2 separate regions of the Homo sapiens genome follow, and region 1 is linked to region 2. The links are contacts of gene promoters, found by promoter capture Hi-C in human tissues and cell types (Jung and others, 2019). All regions are on one chromosome and are shown on one strand. Each heading gives the region's core, a stretch centred on a gene start or on the middle of the fragment in contact. The rest is flanking DNA. Distances are from core to core; before and after follow the strand shown.

Evidence for each region. The method cuts DNA at HindIII sites, captures the fragments that hold promoters and counts their contacts. A contact is called where the count stands out against the background at its distance.
Region 1: a contact is called between a fragment that was not itself captured here and the fragment with the promoter of F2R in region 2, in 1 of the 25 tissues and cell types used here (H1 embryonic stem cells).

What each region holds. Positions count from the first base shown.
Region 1 is chr5:76,873,388-76,879,202 of GRCh38, reverse strand. S100Z (S100 calcium binding protein Z) reads right to left here. Exons shown (of 5, transcript NM_130772.4): 3 at 3,703-3,899; 4 at 1,369-1,529. The coding sequence starts at 3,843. The coding sequence ends at 1,371. Among named protein-coding and RNA genes, the nearest start is that of S100Z, 26 kb to the right of the region's middle. The HindIII fragment of the contact is 9,432 bases long and covers 1-5,815 here.
Region 2 is chr5:76,713,104-76,719,570 of GRCh38, reverse strand. It overlaps F2R (coagulation factor II thrombin receptor), which reads right to left and starts at 3,445. Exons shown (of 2, transcript NM_001992.5): 1 at 3,176-3,445. The coding sequence starts at 3,263. RefSeq lists enhancers at 595-1,095, 1,096-1,596 and a silencer at 3,390-3,639. The HindIII fragment of the contact is 3,629 bases long and covers 1,940-5,568 here.

The DNA of each region.
Region 1 (5,815 bases), core at 2,612-5,111, 160 kb before region 2:
CCCAACAACAACAAAAAAAGACAAGGAAAGACTCAACAAGGTGGAAGACAAAGAGCTACATGGGTTCTTGTCTACAATAGCAAAACATTCCCAGAAATTCCCAGTAGCCTTCTGCTTGTCTCACATTGTCCAGAACTATTACAAGCCCCACACCGGCTGTTAGAGAGGCTAGGAAATATGGCTTTTTAGCCAGGCACATTGCCACCCTGCACAAACCAGGGTTCTGATACATAGAAGAAAGGAAGAACAGATATCAGATGGGCAAACAGCAACGGTTGTTTTGTCATCCTGGACTTCTCTCTTTTCCTCACACTTCACTATGAATCCATCAGCAAGTCCTATCAGTCCCAGCTCCAAAATACTTAACCAATTCAGCTGCTTCTCTTCATCTCCAGTGCTGAACTGCTGGTCTGATATACCATCATCTCTTACCCAGACCACAGCAACAACCTCCTAGCTGGTTGCCTGCCACGATTGCCATCTCTATAGTCCTTTCTTTACACAGTAGTTAGGGTAATCATTTACACGCATAAATATAATCATATCACTCCCTTTCTTAAAATTCTCCAAAGGATCTATCATAGTTTGGGTTCCCCAAGAGGGAGACCCTGAGGCCAGGGTTCGTGTAGAAGTCATTTATTTGAGAGATGCAGAAAACTCAGGGTTGGAGCAGGAAAGTGAGATAAGGAAGAAAAGGTGGCCTCCCTTGGGGCCTACCGAGGCTCAGCCCCAGGGGGAAACAGTGGGAAATAGTGTCAAACACTTGCCTCAGAATTATCCAACCCAAGGGGCAAAGGAGGGTATTTATATGCCAGCTCACAAGAGCTGCTGGCTTCAGCTCTCTCGGCTTGACCACCTAGCCCTGAACCTATCCATTCCCTGACGAAATCACTGAAAAAGCCAGCACTTCTGCTTAGCCGCCTTTCTGCTCATAGACCCTCACACCTTCCATCTGAAACACAGTCACAAGAGAATGAGGAAACCCAGTTAATTTTTTTTAATAGGGTAAGAAGTTCAAAATACAATTTAAGGATATGAATGTCCATCTTAGAAATTTGCCAAATTCAAGTCTCATTTGAAAGTAGCTAAATTTTTGTAATGCCCTCGTTTTGACAAACCAAAAAGATGCATATAGCCTCTTAATAATACAGGCAAGTTTCAAGTAGGGCATATGAGATTTAGAATATCTACATAAAGTCAATATTTTAAGGGGCACATAATTCAATAGTAGCAATTAATTATTAATATATGCACTGGATATTATAGCTATAAATGACATTACTGGGTCTATAGATCTGAACGGTATAAATGAACATTAAGTACATAACTTTGGATATATTTCTGCCTTTAGATGAGCTTATTACTTACCTTTATTTTCCTTTCTTCTTCAATTGTTCTACAAAGTAATCATTACAAGCAACTGTCAGAGCTGCCACCATGACCACGAATTCATTAAAATCCACTTCGTTGTCCTTATTGGCATCCAGGTCCTGCACTATCTTATCAACCAACTGGGTTTCCTTTTGGCACTAAAATGAGAAAGGAAATTTCTAACTCCCTGGCTCTGAGGTTCATGATGACAATTGAAATTCATCTTCCTTTTATTTACATTAAATTCCTAATTTCCATTTATAGCATCTAAAGACATTTTCTAAGAACCTATTTACAGGTAGGTGTAAACCAGCCACGAATTCTAAACGAATCTAGCCCCCTGCCCCAGCTCCATATAATCCTGGCTCAGACCTAGAAACCAAGAAAAGCAAACAGCAGCTGATCAAAGTGAGTGACTGTTGCTAAAAACACATTTACAGGACATCACAGGTTGAGAGCCAGGACACTAGGAGATAGTCGAGTGACATAGAAAGAGGGAGGATTTGAAGCCAAAAAGGAGAAAAATACCAACGAGCGAATTTGAGCAAATCGCGTAACATTTTAAATGCTTTTATTTATAAAATTGGGAGGATAATTTCTATCCACACATTTCAGGGATACTTCATCACACTTTTGAAAGTGCTTAGAGCACCAGGGTCGCTAGATTTAGCAAATAAAAATACTAGATACCTAGTTAAATTTGAATTTCAAATAAACAACAAATAACTTTTAGTTTTAGTATGTCTCAAGTATTGTATAGGACACAAAATATTTTATCTGGCAGCCTACTTAGCACAGTGTGCCTGACACACAGAAGAGAGGCACCCAAAGAAAGGTAGGTCTTATAAAGATGCCTGCATTTTATGGGTGGAAAGCAAAGAGAAGAGGGAAGACAAGGTTCACGAAGGTTGGAACTGTGAAGCACCCACCTCTCCTGTGACTGGTGTTGATGAGGAGTGTTTCCAAAAGCAGTTCATTTCCTCCAGGAAATCCCCATGCCCCCCTCATTTTCTGCTAACCATTAAATGGTCAGAGAAAAACTTAATTGATCAAAACCAACTTGATTAAAACAATTATAAATTGTACTTGATTAAATAAATGTGCGAAGTTTGACCTACTGAGTTTTTATGCTAAATGTTAAACAGTACAGTAGCCAAAGTTGGCCCCACACAGTGGCTCACGCCTGTAATCTCAGCACTTTGGGAGGCCGAGGCAGGCAGATCACTTGAGGTCAGGAGTTCGAGACCAGCCTGGCCAACATAGTGACACTCTGTCTCTACTAAAAATACAAAAAACTTAGCTGGGTGTCGTGGTGCATGCCTGTAATCCCAGTTACTCCGGAGGCTGAGGCACAAGAATCACTCGAACCTGGGAGGTGGAGATTGCAGTGAGCCGAGATCGTGTCACTGCACTCCGGCCTAGGAGACACAGCAAGACTCCATCTCCGAAAAAAAAAAAAATACAGTAGCCAAACGGAATGAGAGGAAAAGAAAAGTTTGTGGGAATTCTAAGATCACTATAAAAATGTCGTGAAGACTAAGTTAAAAAATACTTTATAGAGCTTTTCCCAAATAGAGGGTGGGGAGAAACATGTGTTGTAATTAACAGTCTCTGTAGTCTTAACACAAGGTTTGGAGAGAATAACATCACACGAGGGTAGCATATTGTGCTAAAAATCAGTTTAAGTCAACTCTATAAACACCAGCGTGAAGTGTTTTCCTTGGAGGAGGCCCCAAACGCTACAATGTACGGCTTCATATATTAATCTCTCAAACTCCTGGCTATTTTGAGAAATGAATCTGTTTGCTACCCCACTGGTCACTGGCCAAACACATCCTTCTATCAATCCCAATCAGTCTGTGCTCGGCTGACAAAGCTCTCTAAGTATTTGCCATTCACTAGAAAATTTGCCACCATAGCATGAAGTACCCCACCTCTGAAGGTAAAGTACCCCTTCACCTCTGGCCCAATACATAATTTACAGACAGCTGGACCAAGCTCCAGGTATAACTAGCTGTAACTAGTTATAACTATAACTCTGGCTATAATTAGCTACATCTTTGCCGCACCAGAATGTTAATTGGTGAAAGTCAAAAATACAATTTTTACCACTTAGAAACCCTAACCCCAGGTAACACGAAAAAGGGCACATGCCTATGTACACAGAAAACAAACGTCTCCAGTGTTTGCTTCCCCTATATTTTGAATCTCTGTACAAATTTGGCTGCATTTGTGACAGAATCACAGGACAGTATGAACCCAAAGGCTGTCCTGGAATCTGCACCTCATCTACCCTCAAATGAATACAGCATTTACAAAGGCCTGACTCACCGAGAGGAATTCCGTGAGCTCTCGCTGCAGGAGCAGTTTCAGTTCCCCCTTGCTGAGCTTGAATCTCTTCCTTTCCTTGCCAGAATAGCGGTGGAAGATTCTAATCATGGTGTCCATGGCCATCTCGAGCTGGGTGGGCATGTCGGCAGCAGAACTGACCACTCCAGAAGCAGGCCACCAAACCCGGGGAGAAGACACTTGTTCAGAATAAACAGATGAGGAAACACCAACACTTTCATTAAAACAGAATATTACAATCCCCCGAGTCAGCTCGCCACACAAGTGATGGTTGTTAAAAACATAATAGTCTGCGCAGGCGCGGTGGCTCAAGCCTGTAATCCCAGCACTTTGGGAGGCAGAGATGGGTGGATCACAAGGTCAGAAGATCGAGACCATCCTGGCTAACACGGTGAAACCCCGTCTCTACTAAAAATACAAAAAAAAATTAGCCGGGCGCGGCGGCGGGCGCCTGTAGTCCCAGCTAGCTACTCAGGAGGCTGAGGCAGGAGAACGGCGTGAACCCGGGAGGCGGAGTTTGCAGTGAGCCGAGATCGCGCCACTGCACTCCAGCCTGGGCGACAGAGCGAGACGCCGTCTCAAAAAAAAAAAATTAATAATAATAATAGTCTTTCATTAAAGAGTGTTCCACCCTTGCTGGGGCAAGCTGCAAATAAGCACTTCGCAGCTGAGTTGTTTCTCCTCGCTAATCCCTACACCCCCAAGAGGTAGCAGCTCCAGCATATTCATAAGACAACCAGGTAACAGGTACAAAGTCAAACTAAAATATAGAATTTAAAAATAAATAAAAATAGGAAGGAAAATACCTACCTGTTCAACAGATACACAGCTCTGTCAATGGTTGTTTACCATTAAACTATAAGCATTTATACGTGGGGGAGGGGGAAACGTTCTCCCCAGCACACCTGTTTCCGGGAAGATGAAAATTGCCAGTGACAAGAGATTCAAAGGGAGGTGCCTCTGCTCCGTATTTAATCACCAAAATGAACAGGTGTGAGCTGCTGCCCCAAGGGTCATTGAAGAAGGCTAGTGCTCATTGGGTGCATTAGATAAGAAGGCAAAGACAAAGCAAGAGGAAGCCTTATCTCTCTTTAGGGGAGTGTGGATAGAAATGCAATTAGTTGCTAGGAAGCTGATGATGGGGAAGAACTCTAAAAATAGGGGAGCAAAGAAGAAACACTAGTTCCAACCTGGAGATGACTCAGCAAAGCCAATAGCAAGGACAAGGGAGTAAATTCATAGTAGATTAAACTAACCCAAAGGACAGTTGAAAAAAAAAAAAAAAGAGGAAGTGCTCCACGCACTGATTTAGAAAGGTACAAAGCAGTGCTCCCAACTGTGTAAAAAAGAAATAATACATGTGTATGTGTGCTTGCAGTTACCTAAGGAGTCACTGAAAGGAAACAAAATATAATACTATGTTGGGAGCTGTCAGGGGTAAGGGGGGAAAGGGTAGAACAGAGTGGTTGGGAGTAAGACTTCCCAGTGTACACCTTTTTAAGTGATTTTAACTTTTTCAGTTATAGGAATGTATTACCTAATAAAAAAGTTGAAATAAACCTCAGAGCAGCTGTGTGTGCAGGAATCCACAACAGATTTCCAAGTGAGAGAAACTTAATAAAGAAAGAGTCCATGTAAAAACCAAAGCCAGATATTGGCCACTGTGCTTTTAAATCCTGCCTGTTCTCTCAGGACTGAAACTTAATTATACGGAAAGCAAGCCAGGATCTCCTTTTTATTTCCCTTCAACAAAGTAGTCAGTATGTAACCTCAACCATCCCATCTGCCCCTGGCCTTGCTGCCTGGCTACTCCACTGCAACCTCCCTGCAAGGTTCCCAGGAGGTGTTCACTGTACACCTAACACAAAATTTTCAAACATATTCAGGCTGGGCACAGTGGCTCAATCCTGTAATCCCAGCACGTTGGGAGGCAGATCACTTGAGGTCAGGAGTTCGAGACCACCCTGACCAAAATGGTGAAACCCTGTCTCTACTAAAAATACAAAAATTAACTGGATATGGTGGTGCACGCCTGTAGTCCCAGCTACTCGGGAGGCTGAGGCAGGAGAATTGCTTGAACCCAGGAGGTGGAGGT
Region 2 (6,467 bases), core at 2,196-4,695:
GTTGCTCAGACTGGAGTGCAGTGGCACAATCTCAGTTCCCTGCAACCTCTGCCTTCCAGGTTCAGGCAATTCTGGTGCCTCAGCCTCCCAAGTAGCTGTGACTACAGGTGTGCACCACCATACCCAGCTAATTTTGTATTTTTAGTAGAGACAGGGTTTCACCATGTTGGTCAGGCTGGTCTCAAACTCCTGGCCTCAAGTGATCCCCCTGCTTTGGCCTCCCAAAGTGCTGGGATTACAGGCATGAGCCACCGCACCCAGTCCCAATTCCACCTCTTTCTCAACTTGTGACTTAACCATTCTGGGTCTCTGTTTTATAACCAGTAAAATGAGGATGACATCTACTCAAAGGGCTGTTGTGAGAAATAAATAAGATAGTATTGTAACGTCCCTAAGAAGGATGTCAGCTGTAGTCAGTACTCCACAGAGGGTAGCTGTTTTTAATTAAACATGAACGTGGCGGGTATGGGATATGGGGAGGGCATTCTGGCCAGAGGGAGTGGCATGCGGACAGAAGCCAGAGAAAGCATAGCTCCTTGAAGGGAGGATCTAGAGGATGGGGCTGGGTGAACTGGAGGGTGAGTAATAGGAGATGGCTGGAGAGGGGCTGGGGACCCTCCTGCAAGGGGAGGAGCACTTCATTCCATGCCAGAGAATTGGGCTTGACTCTGTGAGTAGGAGGGTAGCAAGTGGAATTGCCCACCAAGTTCTCTCTGTCATAGTCACCACCAGCTATTCTTGAACACTTTAACCCTCTAGAGCCCCATAAAATTTATAAACATCACCTTTTACTCTTGGATGTTGGCCCTTTTAATGATCACATATCATCTCACTTAAATTGTCTAGACGAATGTAAACTGGTTGATGAATTTACACATTTCTCAACAACTATCTGCTGAGTGAACATTTGTTTTAGTCACCATGGGGATAAATAAAACTTTATAATCTTAGTTGGGAGAATGAGACACACACACAAAGTGACAAGGCAGGAAATGCCAAAATGAGTGGGAACAAAAAGTCGGGAAGTGCTGGAGGAAGGCTCAGCTTGGTGGTCAGGGCCAGCCCTGGGAGGGCTTCACCGCCCCTCTTGGCACACAGAGCTGGTAATCCTGGACAATAAACTCTATCACAGCGGTGGCGGTTCAAGGATGGGAGGCACTGTTGGATGCCTCAGAGTCCCAGCACCACTACCTTATGACAGACAATGCTTAGAATTGTCAATGCATGGTGGTAATAGAAAGTAAACCTATCTTGGGTTGATTTTATTAGTGATTTTAAATTTTCTAAAGACAAAGCCCCACTTATTCCTAATTGCTTGCACCCAGGGTGGGTGGACTGCCCCTTCCCTGCCCCACCCGCCACCACTTGCTTAGCCGCTGTCTCTGGGTCTTAGTTGCAGAATCAGCAAAAGGGGATAAATACCCACCTTAACAAGGTGTTTTGACAAGGTGAAATGAGACAATCCAAGTGAAAATTCCTTCTGGCCCAGGGCTTGACATGGAATATGGCACTTAGCAAGCGCTCCTTTTCCTCTATCATACTCCTTTCTTCTTTCCCTCCCAAAGTGGTTCCAGAATCCAGTGTTGATAAACTAGCCAAGTTCATCCACCTGCCTTTCTGTCTACACCAGCACTGTCCATATTAACATGCACCACTCCTGCCATGAGGATGTAAGAAGCTTGGCAGAAACCAGTACGCTTTGACTTCACTCCCTAATGAGGCTACACACCTTGCTGGGAGGCCACTGTGAGAAAGGGTGCAGCATTTCTATAAGCTCTGTTCTCCACCCCATGATCCAAATCTCAAACAAAACACTGGATTCTCAAGAGCGTGTCCTCAAACTACATTGTGCAAATTACATAATGGTATGTGAAATCATATCTCATCGCAAACAATTTTTCAGGAGTTCTCGGTGTTCTCTCAAACACTTTCGGCAACAATGCTCACTTATCTGCAGGCAGGCTAGTTACTGCTAAACACTGGGCCCCAGTCTGGAGCTCTTAGTTTTCCCAAAAGCATCTCAAAACTCACCCTGAACAAAGACAGAGAGGCGAGAACATGCTATGTCTTTGTCACCTCTTAATCTTGATGTGTCTACACTTTTTTTTGAGTGTGGGAGCAATATAGAGTGCACATTCTTTTAGCGATAACAAGAAAACCCGCTAGAACTTCTTTCAGCGTAAAAAAAATGGCTCAAAGCTTATAAAATACTATTGTTATTAGGAAATTCAAAAACACTTTTCTCACTTTCTAATTAGCGCCTTTACAGGCTAAAAACAACTCATCTGTGCTGCTCTTGGGGAAAGGGATACAGAAAATATTTGACCAAATAAATTAATCAAATTTATTTATTTGGTCAAGTGGCCAGATACTTAAAAATAGACTACTAGTGGGGAAAATATTCTAGGGGAGCAACCTTCTTGCAGTGGATCAGAAATCTCGTTAAGAAATACTGGGATCCCACAGTGTTCGAGGGAGCCCGGTCCTGGGGAGGGATCTCTCTCTTCAACTCACTTAGAAGGAATGGGTTCTAGGTAACAACAAAATCCTCTCCATGTCCCCTCCCCCGCCACCACGCGGAGCCTCTGCTATTGTCACCATATATCTCGCACCCTGCGCACCTCCTGGACACAAGGCCGGGCCGGGGGCTGCTGGTACTGATTCTCTGCTAAACATGCCAAGGGACTGCCTGGGCTTTTCTCTACATCACTTTTCTCGCCTGTAAAATGTGCAAGAAAAAAACTTCCAACAAAGCAAAACTTCAGCGGCAGCGGTTCGCCACTTTATATTTTAAAGATCGAAACGTTTATTGGTGGAGCAACGTGAGAGCTTTTCTTTTTGGGGGTGGTCCTGGGAGAAACACAATGACAAGTGCAACGCAGGACTGCAGGCTCCCCCAGGGGGCTTCCGCTCCATCCTCCTCCATATCCAACACCCCGTGGCAGGCGGGCTGCACCCTCCAAGATCGAGTCCAAAGGGGCATCGGCTGGGCCCGCGAAGGGGGTGGCACGCCCCACCTAAACGTGACTGGAAAAAACTCCAGATCTCAGCCCAAATGCCAGTTTGGCTTTCGGAGGAAACTGAGGCAGGGGTGAGGAGAAGGCGCAACAGTGACCCCCGCAGTCTCCCCTCGGCGTCCCTCCGCCCGCGCACCCCATTCCCGTGCATCTCTCACCTGGCCTGCGGGCCCGGGTGCGGGCAGACAACAGCGGGCCGCACAGACTGAAGCAGGCGGCCACCAGCAGCAGCCGCCGCGGCCCCATTGTCCCGGGCTCTGCGCGGCGCTGCTCCGGGAGGCTGCCCCGCCTCGGGCTGCTCCGCTTCACCCTCTCTCCTGACTTCTGCGGGTCGGGGAGCCGGTCTTCGCGGCAGGCAGAGCGCAGGGTGCCCACGGGTAAGATCAGGGTCCAAGCGACCCTCGGCGAGCGCTGTGTCTGGGGCGGTTAGCGGGGCGGGGCGGGACTGGGGCGCGCGGTCGCGCGGGCGCGAGCGAGGAAGGGCGCCCTCCGGCGTGCAGTGAGAGTCTCTGCGCTGGAGCCGCTCGGCGCCCCCTCCCCGCGGTCCCTCAGCCGCCGCTCGCAAGCCCCTCTGGCTCTGTGCGCCCCGCCCCGCCCCGCCCTGCCCTACTGGGGGGCCCTGGCCGCCGGCCACTGCCGGGCCTAGAAGTCCAAATGAGAAGTTTTTTCCTCTGGGCACCGTTGATTCGCGAAGCTGTCAGTGACTCACACTGGCGGGGTCCTTGGAATGGGGCCGCACGGCTCGCAGGCTGCTTCCCGCGGCCGTCTCGACCCTCCTGGGATGTGGAGACGTCGACAGTGGACGCCCCGGCCAGGATGCGTCCACGCCCTGCAGCCCCGCAGCCCTGGCGTGGCCTCCCGTCCTCCCTCCCTCCGTGTGGGACACCGGCAAAGTTCAGTTTTCGCTAAAAGTCTAAAAGGGACTTCTGCTTTTGTAACGTGGGGATCACGGATTTAAAAGTTTATGATGTAGTGACAGGGTTGCCCCTAAATGAGAAAGGGCCCTTGAGTCTGGACAGAATTCTTGAACTTTTATACGTCTCTCTTTATTTCGCGAAGTTAGGCGTTTCATACGCCGGGCACTCGTTTCCCCCACACGCAGACTGCGAGTGGAATAGGAAGAGCGGCTTCTCCCGCTTCCCCCCCGCGCGGCCTCGCGGAGCTCTTCCCTTTCCCGCGCCGCCCGCCGGGGTCACCTGCGCATCTGGGAGGAGGGCGCGCGTCTGCCGGTGAGGCCGGCGTTCTAGGGCCGCGGGCGCCCAGGAGAGAAATGGCCTGGTAACTTTCCAAGTGTCCTTCACACGTTCTTGAACGATATTACAGTTTGTTTTGTTTTTGAGGCAGGGTCTTGCCCTGTCGCCCAGGCTGGAGTGCAGTGGCGCCAACACGGCTCACTGCAGCCTCGATCTCCCTGGCTCAGGCCACCCTTTCGCCCCAGCCTCCGGATTACCTGGGACCACAGAAAGGCGCGCGCCACCATGTCCGGCTAATTTCACTGCTGGCCTCAAGCGATCCTCCTGCCTCAGCCTCCTAAAGTGCGGGGATTACAGGCGTGAATCACCGCGCCAGGCCTGATATTAAAGGAGTTTGGCTAAATTCAAGGCACAGGGCGGGGACACTCGCTTGGCAGTCTGCTAAGGGCCCCCAGGGGCGTCGCGGCTGGGGGTGGGCAGGAGGAGCCTGCAGCTTAAGTTGCTTTGCCACTGGCTCTGGTGCGTGCGCCTTTCAGACTCCAACAGGAAATGGGTCCCCAAATAGCTGTTTCTAGGAAAGCTCAGCCGCAGCCCCTTCTCCTCTTAACCCAGCGCACTGATGTGCGGGCATATTCGGAGTTCTGTGGTTGATAAGCTGCAGCTGAGAGCCGGTGGTCAGTTTTCTAAGCCTTTTTTAAAAGTGAATTTCGCACGAAGAGTATCATTCCCCCACTAGAGCCCGGACACTTACATCCGTGGAGAAAGTACGATCAGAGGCGATTTCGTTCTTCCCTGTATTCTCCCATCATCCTCAAAGGACAGTACCTTGTTGTACACAGAAGTTGATCACTAAATTGCGGAAGTACCCAGTTAAATAAAGCTTTTTAAAATCTATCCCCGTTCAGTTATCCTCTGGAAACATACCCAAGAGTAAATGTGAACAGTTAAAATTACATAGTTCTTCATTCACTATTAAACTATTTTTCATTATTCCTAAGACGTCATTGATTTTACAATTTATCATTTTAACCCATTACCACAAGCCAGAAAAAAATGTGACATACCAATGATTGTAAGAAACACTCCAATTTCAGGGTTATGAAGAAAAGGCATTTTAGAATCAATGAAACACAGTGGAAAATATAAACACATATGACAAAATTTCTGATAGTTGAAGGATATGAAATGAAAAATAAATTACCTTCTGCCTCCCCTCCCCTAGTTGCCATCTGACCACTAAGTTTCCCCTCCTTCCTTCCTTCCTTCCTTCCTTCCTTCCTTCCTTCCTTCCTCCCTCCCTCTCTTCCTTCCTTCCTTCCTCTCTTCCTTCCTTCCTCTCTCTCTCTCTCTGTCTTTCTTATTTTCTTTCTTTCTTTTTTTTCCTGAGGCGGAGTTTCACTCTTGTTGCCCAGGCTGGAGTGCAATGGCGCGGACTCGGCTCACAGCAACCTCCGTCTCCTGGGTTCAAGCGATTCTCCTGCCTCAGCCTCCCGAGTACTTGGGATTACAGGCGCCTACCACCGCGCCTGGCTAATTTTTTGTATTTTTAGTAGAGACTGGGTTTCACCATATTGGCCAGGTTGGCCTCAAACTCCTGAACTCAGGTGATCCACCCGCCTTAGCCTCCCAAAGTGCTGGGATTACAGGCATGAGCCACCGCATCCAGCTACCTGACCACTAAGTTTCTGTTCACCATTCAAAAAATCATATCCACATACAAATTGCATATATGTATATCCTTAAAATAAGAATGGAATAATACCACCACATTTTAAAATTTTATCTGTGTCATTGGTGGAAAATGTTATTTTTAACCATTTTACAAAACGATAAAGCTTAAAAGGATGCTTTGGGGTCTTAGTTGTTAGAACAAAATGTACCTCTAGTGACAAAAAGACGTACAATGAAGGCTGGGTGCAGTGGCTCACACCTGTAATCCCAGCACTTTGAGAAACTGAGGCGGTCAAATCACTTGAGGTCAGGAGTTAGAGACCAGCCTGGCCAGCATAGAGAAACTCCGTCTCTACTAAAAATACAAAAATTAGCCGGGCTTGGTGGTGTGCACCTGTAATCCCAGTTACTTGGGAGGCTGACGCAGGAGAATCACTTGAACCTGGGAGGCAGAGTTTGCTGTGAGCCAAAATTGCACCACTGCACTCCAGTCTGGGCAACAGAGCAAGACTCTGTCTCAAAAAAACAAAAACAAAAGCAAAAAAAAAAAAAAAAACAAAAATAATGAAATGCTTAAATGCTTTGT